Linked DNA regions of Homo sapiens: region 1 is linked to region 2. The links are contacts of gene promoters, found by promoter capture Hi-C in human tissues and cell types (Jung and others, 2019). All regions are on one chromosome and are shown on one strand. Each heading gives the region's core, a stretch centred on a gene start or on the middle of the fragment in contact. The rest is flanking DNA. Distances are from core to core; before and after follow the strand shown. Region 1 has its middle 6.3 kb from the start of TEX44. Region 2 holds the start of PDE6D (phosphodiesterase 6D).

What was found. The method cuts DNA at HindIII sites, captures the fragments that hold promoters and counts their contacts. A contact is called where the count stands out against the background at its distance.
Region 1: a contact is called between a fragment that was not itself captured here and the fragment with the promoter of PDE6D in region 2, in 2 of the 25 tissues and cell types used here (H1 embryonic stem cells and IMR-90 fibroblasts).

Annotation. Positions count from the first base shown.
Region 1 is chr2:231,584,472-231,588,665 of GRCh38, forward strand. It overlaps the pseudogene RPL23AP26. Among named protein-coding and RNA genes, the nearest start is that of TEX44, 6.3 kb to the right of the region's middle. The HindIII fragment of the contact is 4,173 bases long and covers 63-4,194 here.
Region 2 is chr2:231,779,277-231,783,215 of GRCh38, forward strand. It overlaps PDE6D (phosphodiesterase 6D), which reads right to left and starts at 2,006. Exons shown (of 5, transcript NM_002601.4): 1 at 1,789-2,006. The coding sequence starts at 1,838. It also overlaps a transcript of COPS7B not described here. RefSeq lists enhancers at 1,173-1,252, 1,803-2,032 and silencers at 1,196-1,419, 1,543-1,592. The HindIII fragment of the contact is 5,328 bases long and covers 400-3,939 here.

The sequences.
Region 1 (4,194 bases), core at 899-3,398, 190 kb before region 2:
CTTTTTAAAATATTTTATTTTTTGAGACAGGTTCTCACCCTGTTTCCCAGGCTAGAGTGCATTGGTGCTATCCTAGCTCTCTGCAGCCTCAACCTCCCAGGTCAAGTGATCCTCCTGCCTCAGCCTTCTGAGTAGCTGGGACTATGGGTGCATGCCACCACACCTGGTCCTAATTTTTTTATTTTCGTATTTTAATTTTATTTATTTATCTATTTATTTATTGACGCAGTAATAAATGTTACCCAGGCTAGAGTGCAGTAGCATGATCTCAGTTCACTGCAACCTCTACCTCCCAGGCTGAAGTGATCCTCCCTCCCACCTCAGCCTCCAGAGGAGCTGGGACCGCAGGTGCACACCACCACGTCCGGCTAATTTTGTTGTTGTTGGAGAGATGGGGTTTCTTCATGTTACCCAGGCTGGTCTCCTTCCACCCACCTTGGCCTCCCACATGCTGGGATTGCAGGCATGAACCACCATATCTAGCCTTATTTTTTGAGATGGGGTCACACTCTGTTGCCTAGGCTGGAGTGCAGTGGTGCAATTACAGCTCACTGTAGCCTCGAACACCCGGACTCAAATAATCCTCCCGCCTTGGCCTCCCAAAGTGCTGGGACTACAAGTGTGAGCCACCACGCCCAACCTCCTGCTTTTTAAAGTAACATTATATAACAATCTTTTTCCATGTTTCTGTACAGGCTTTATACAGCTTCATAATATTCCATAAACTGAGTTTACCCTAAAATAAGAGTATTTAATTATTTAATTCGAGAGTCATTCTCCCCAAGAGAAAGGAGTTGAGGGCCAGGCACGGTGGCTCATGCTTGTAAATCCCAGCACTTTGGGAGGCTGAGGCAGGCGGATCACTTGAGGTCAAGAGTTCGAGACCAGCCTGGCCAACATGGCAAAACCCCATGTCAACTAAAAATACAAAAATTAGCCGGGCATGGTGGCAGGTACCCGTAATCCCAGCTACTTGGGAGGCTGAGGCAGGAGAGTTGCCTGAACCCAGGAGGCAGAGGTTGCAGTGAGCCAAGATCACTCACGCCACCGCACTCCAGCCCGCAACCTGGGGGACAAGAGTAAGACTTCATCTCAAAAAAAAAAAAAATTAGCCAGGTGTGGTGGCAAATGCCTGTAGTCCCAGCTACTTGGGAGGCTGAGGCATGAGAATCGCTTGAACCTGGGAGGCAGAGGTTGCAGTGAGCCGAGATCATGCCACTGCACTCCAGCCTGGGTGACAGAGTGAGACTCCATCTCAAAAAAAAAAAAAAAAAAAAAAAAAAAAAGAGAGAGAGAGAGAAAGGAATTGAAAAGAAAGCAAAGGCAAATTATTTGAGACGAATTTCCTCTTATGAGAACTACTTAATAAAGGTAGAGAACTCTTTTTACAAGATGATGCCAAAGGCAAAGAAGGAAGCTCTTGCCCCTCCTAAAGCTGAAGCCAAAGCAAAGGCTTTGAAGGCCAAGAAGGCAGAGCTGAAAGGTATCCACAGCCACAAAAAAAAGATCTGCACGTCACCCACCTTCCAGCGGCCCAAGACACTGCGACTCTGGAGGCGGCCCAGATATTCCCAGAAGAGCATCCCTGGGAGAAATAAGCTTGGCCACTGTGTTATCATCAAGTTTCCGCTGACCACTGAGTTGGCCACGAAGAAGACAGACGACAACAACACACTGTGTTCATTGTGGATGTTAAAGCCAACAAGCACCAGATCAAACAGGCTGTGAAGAAGCTCTATGACATCGACGTGGCAGTGGTCAACACCCTGAATAGGCCTGATGGAGAGAAGAAGGCATATGTTCAACTGGCTGCTGATTATGATGCTTTGGATGTTGCCAACAAAAATGAGATCATGTGGTTGGGCACGGTGGCTCACACCTATAATCCCAGCACTTCGGGAGGCCGAGGAGAGTGGATCACCTGAGGTCAGGAGTTTGAGACCAGCCTGGCCGACATGGCAAAACCCTGTCTCTATTAAAAATACAAGAAAATAAGCCAGGTGTGGTGGTGCGCTCCTGTAGTCCCAGCTACTCAGGAGGCTAAAACAGAAGAATCACTTGAACCCAGGAGGCAGAGGTTTCAGTGAGCTGAGATCACATCACTGCACTCCAGCCTGGGCCATAGAGCAAGACTCTGTCTCAAAAAAAACAAAAAAAAAGCCAGGCGCGGTGGCTCACGCCTGTAATCCCAGCACTTTGGGAGGCTGAGGCGGGCGGATCACCTGAGGTCAAAAGTTTGAGAACAGCCTGACCAACATGGAGAAACCCCATCTCCACTAAAAATACAAAATTAGCTGGACGTGGTGGCGCATGCCTGTAATCCCAGCTACTCGGGAGGCTGAGGCAGAAGAATCACTTGAACTCGGGAGGAGGAGGTTACGGTGAGCCAAGATCGCGCCATTGCACTCCAGTCTGAGCAACAAGAGTGAAACTCTATCTCAAAAAAAAAAAAAGGGATCATCTAAACTGAGTCCAGCTGGCTAATTCTAAATATATATATATCTTTTCACCAGAAAAAAAAAAATAAAAGTAGGAAAGTTTTTAACTAAGATGGAGAAAACTTTCATATATATTTTATTTTGTATTTTATTTATGTACAGAATATATCTAAAATATATATTGTCCACATAACAGAATAAATATATTTTGTTCTATACTGATCTCATTTAATATTTATTTACAAATAAATAATCCTTTATTTTTTGTTCCCCAATTTTAATAAATCTCTCTGCCTTTGACATCAGTGCCTATTCATTCCACTGTAGCCTTCCTTGGGCACGATTTTCAAGCATATGAAACTTTTTTTTTTTTTGAGATGAAGTTTCACTCTTGTTGCCCAGGCTGGAGTGCAATGGTGCAACCTCGGCTCACCACAACCTCCGCCTTCCAGGTTCAAGCAATTCTCCTGCCTCAGTCTCCTGAGTAGCTGGAATGACAGGTGCACCACCAAGCCCAGCTAATTTTGTATTTTTAGTAAAATGGGGTTTATCCACGTTGGTCAGGCTGGTCTCAAACTCCTGATCTCAGGTGATCCACCCGCCTCGGCCTCCCAAAGTGCTAGGATTACAGGCGTGAGCCACCATGCCTGGCCCAAGCATATGAAATGTAACAAGGGTCAACATAAAGTGCAACATGTAGAATCAAAAGCTGAATTCCAAATACAGAGTTTGTCCTTGGTGCCTATAAGGTGCATGATGGTTTTAGTGGGCCACATGAGGGGACATCAGAAACTTTCTATTCTCAACACACACACACAAAGTAAGAAAGAAAGAAAATGGCCAGGTGCGGTGGCTCATGCTTGTAATCCCAGCATTTTGGGAGGCCAAGGCAGGCAGATTGCTTGAGCCCAGAAGTTCAAGACCATCCTGGGCAACATAGTGAGACTCCATCTCTACAAAATATTTAAAAATCAGCCAGCCATGGTGCACACACCTGTAGTCCCAACTACTCAGAGGCTGAGGTGGGAGGATCCCTTGAGCCCAGGAGGTCAAGGCTGCAGTGAGCTATGATTGTACCACTGTACTCCAGCCTGGGCAACATAGTGAGACCCTGTTGAAAGAAAACAAGAAAAAAGAGAGAAGGGGGAAGAGGAAAGAAAGAGAAAGAAAAGAGAAGAGAAGAGGAGGGAAAAGGAGGGAAGGGAAAGGAAGGGAAGGGAAAGGAAGGGAAGGGAAGGGAAGGGAAAGAAAAAAGAAAAGAAAGAGGGAGGGAGGAAGGAAGGAGGGTGGGGGAAGGAGGGAGGGAGGGAGGGAGATGGAAACTATACGAGGTGAGGGATATGTTAATTAGCTTGATTGTAGTGATTATTTCACAGTCTAATGTACAACAAAACATTAAGTCAGCCAGGCACAGTGGCTCACGTCTGTAATCCTAGCACTTTGGGAGGCAGAGGCAGGTGGATCACGGGTCAGGAGTTCAAGACCAGCCTGGCCAAGATGGTGAAACCCCGTCTCTACTAAAAATACAAAAATTAGCCAGGCTCGGTGACAGGCGCCTGTAATCCCGGCTACTTGGAAGGCTGAGGCAGGAGAATCGCTTGAACCCGGGGGCCGGAGGTTGCAGTGAACTGAGATCGTGCCACTGCACTCCAGCCTGGGTGACAGAGTGAGATTCCATCTCAAAAAAAAAAAAAAATTAAGTCATATATAGGTTTTTATTTCCTGGGTAAAGATAGGGAGCGGGGAGAACTTTCTA
Region 2 (3,939 bases), core at 756-3,255:
GGGCTGACACAGATTCTGCTTTCTGAAACTCTTTTCCGTATTTGTCTCTTATCCTCTTTCTCAACAGGTTCAAGAGCTAAGACTGAAGGTGAGAAGCTCAAACTTTTCTGCTTTGTTCAAAAGCCATTAAAAAGGCCTTTCTTCTTTTCAGCAATACGGTATTTCCAATCAGATGAAAACGTTGCTTCTGAAATCTCTCAATTCTCCAGTTTCCGGTTTACTGTCTACAAAGCATGTTAAGTAGCAATATTATTACATTGTTAGATGTTAATAGTATAAATTATTTGAGGGAAAAATAAAATCCATGTCATAGCTTTTCCAGCACTTCAGTCATCCCTATATACCTATTTGATCCATTATGGAGAGAAACACAGAAAGGCACATGGAGCTATAAAAGAGGCTGCTACTAAACCAAAACATGAAAGTACTGAAAGTTTATCACAGATGGTAGTATGCAAAGGTGATACAGCCTTTAGTTTTTTTAAAAAGCATAGATCAATTTCCATTCGAAAAATCTCACTTGTACATCCAAAACTTCCTTTTTGCACTGTGGTCTAAAATGTATTACCAACTTGGTTTCTGATTATAGCAAAGCAATTAAATTTGCAAGCGTGACATGGACATTGTGAAAACGCAACAGAATACCAAGAAAACAGTGCTTTACTAAACCTCCAAGGGAGGAGCCCTGAAGTGGTGACTACCTTTTCACTGAGGGAGCAATTTAAGAACGTTCGTACTATAGATTACAGATAGGATGCATGAAGAGATTAAAGTTGGCAGGAGAATGGAAAATTTGAATATCCAAGTTTGCATTTTTTCATCTGCATCATATGGTGACAGACTAACACACTCCACGAAAACACAAAGCTTCCTTACGGAGAGGATGCAAAAGGGGCACCACAACAGGCCCGAGGCAATGATTTCTCTACCCCACTCTATCCTACCGTGGCCCCAGCGACATCACACCATTGCTGGACAGCTCCACCACAGCTAGGCATAACCGCACCGACAGGAGCGAGCAAAGACACCTCGGCTAGGAGTCCCAGCGCGAGGCACCCCACACCTAAGCCTATGGTCCTCATCTTGCTGGAAAGAAAACTGAGGCGCTGAGGGGGAAGCAGTGACCAATGCCTGAGAAGGCCAAGAGTGTTAAGACGAGGTCGATCTTGGACTTCTCTTTCCCCACCTCCCCCAACTACTCCAGTCCTGGAAGAAGCCACAAGTTTGGAAGAGAAGTTGTGGAAACCAGACGGGGGTGGGGTGCGGTGCGGTGCGGTGGGGGACCTGAGAGAGTTTTAAAAGCACTGGTATTTGTCCCACACAAGGTCGCCCGCTCCAAGTCACTGTTCCCCGCTCCCCGGGTAGGCTTATAGCCAAAGAGGCTTCTAGGCTTCGAGATCAGCCCACCGCGCCCCCTCAGCCCTTCTCCGCGGGCCGCAGCCCCATCCCGGCCTCTGGGTCCCGGCCGGGGATCGGAACCCAGCCGGCTTCTCCGACAGCGTTTCCGACGCCCGGCACCTCTCGCAGCCCCGTCCCCCAGGCTCCCCCGTCTCCACCCGCCACCCCCCGGCGCTCCCGTCAACGTCCCCTTCCTCCCTCAGGACGCCCCTTGGGGCGCCTCTCGCGCCGGGTCCCGCCGGGTGCTCGGCACGCTGTTCCTTTCCTCTCCCCTCCCGCGGCCCTTCTTCTGTGGGGCCCACCTGGCGCGGCCCCCGCCCCCGGCCAGTCTCCTCAGTGAGCGGCCGCCTCCCAAGTCCTCCCGGCCCCGCCCCGCTCCCGGACGGATACAGTTTGAAGCCCCTCAGGATCTCCCTGGCCCGCTCGTCCTTGGCTGACATGATGCGGCGGTCGCCGCCCGCGGCTTTCTCACTCTGGTCGGCGGAGCCTCGCAGACGGTGCCCAGGAGCCGAGGATGGAGCCGCAGCCCGGCTTGGAGACCTCGGGCTAGCAGCCGCAGCGGCCAGACCAGGACCGGCCTCTCTCTCCCCTCAGCTCCCGCTTCTGATCCCTTCTCCTTCCCCCTAGCCTCGCAGTGCCCTCCTGGAACCAATGGAAAGCCAGCCTTGGCGATTGGCATCTCAACCAGCCAGTAGGAGCGCGCAGCGGCTTCGCAGGGGGACTGTTAACGTCAATGGGAAGGGCCCTCCCCGGGAAGTCCCATAGGACACAATATTCATCTGGTGTTGTTGCCTAGAGTTTGTCCCAGCGGAGGGTTGGCTTCGGATCTGCAGAGGCTTTAGGGACCTGCTCCAGCCACTGAGCACACTAGCCGTCTGAGACGGCAGCTGAGTTGCACTGTGCGACGCGACAGAGACTACATTTCCCAGCATTCCAGCGGCGCACTCGGGGGACCACAGATCCCAGCGCACCACAAAGAGGCCCGGGGACTACAAATCCCAGCATCCCCTGCACTCGGTTCCTCTGTAACTTAGACTCCAGTGTGCCGCGCAGTGTGCGCAAATTCACAAACCCGCCCGCTGAGTTGGTCGTTTCGGAATCCCGAGACTTGAAACCCAACGGGAAGACCCTTCTCACCCTCAAAAGAAGATGACAGCCCGCAGAGAGTTAACTTCTGTTTACATGGAACTCAGACATCTGCAAATCATGGTAAGGCTGCAAACAACAAACAAAAACACTGATTAAACCGTGAAAGAGAACAAAATGACTTCTTCAAATCGTGCTTGTTTGTTGGTCTGAGGCGCCTTTTACATGTATTTCAGGGTTTTTTGCTGTATTCCTGGTTTGCACCGGGAGAGCTATGGATTGTATACTCAGAATATCAAAACATAAAGGGACTTTGCTAATCTATCCCCTGTTGTTACGTATGAGGAAATTGAGGCCCAGAGAGGCGAAGGGATTGGCCACAGATCACAGCAAGTTCGGGCAGAGTTAGAATTCAGCCCTAAGTCGGCTGACTTGCAGTCTGGACTCTTTGCACCACACTAAGGAGGTGATATTTTTAGCAGCATGGCAATGTGAATTATTCTCCTTGAACGGTTTTCCTATCCACTGTTGAAACACCCAGAATTAGGTAGCATTTATTTGGTGGATTTCTTGCGAGTGAGGGAGTGTGATATTTATTTATTTTCAGCCTAGGTAGGATTTGGTGTTTTGTTTTTTGCCACTCAAGGTGACATTTAATGTGATTTCAGGAAGTAGGTAAAATTACAGTGTGAGCCACGGTTTCCTTGGAAACCTCCTCTGTCCTTCTCTTGGCCTTCCTTCCTCTGCCTGTCCCCACTTTCACCCATCTGGGAACTCACCCAATTTTTTCTTCCATGTAATTCAACAAATATCTTTTCAGCCTGTTATTTGTCAGGCACTGAGTGGGTAAAAGGTGAAGGACATGGTCACTGCCACCAGGAAGATGAACATATATTTAGGGAAATAAGGAGACTCCACTGAGATTCAAGATGGAGTGTGATAAAATGGCATAAAGAAATGACATCAGAATGCTAAGGAGGCCCTGATGAAAAGGTTCATTGCAGCTGGCAAAACTTTAATGGACAAGGTGGCATTTGAACTTGAATTTTTTTTCCATGTTAAAAAAGTTTTTTTTTTGTTAATGAGGTGTAACATACAGTATGGGAACAATTTTCACATAGGTATACACCCCTGTCGCCACTACCCAAATCAAGATATAGAACATTTCTAGCACACTTAGTGCTCCCTCCCAATCAGTATTACATCCTTACATATTGAGATAATCACTCTTCTGACTGTATCACCATAGATCAGTTTTCTCTGTTCTTGAATTCCAGTTAAATATAATAATACAGTATGTACAGTATGTGTCTGGCTTTTTTACTTTATCAGTATTTTTGTGAAATTCATCCATGTTGTGTGTAGCCTTTTAATTGCTGAATAGTATTCTGTTGTATGTTTATACCACAATTTATCTTTTCCACTGTTGGCGGGCATTTGGGTTGTTATTTTTTG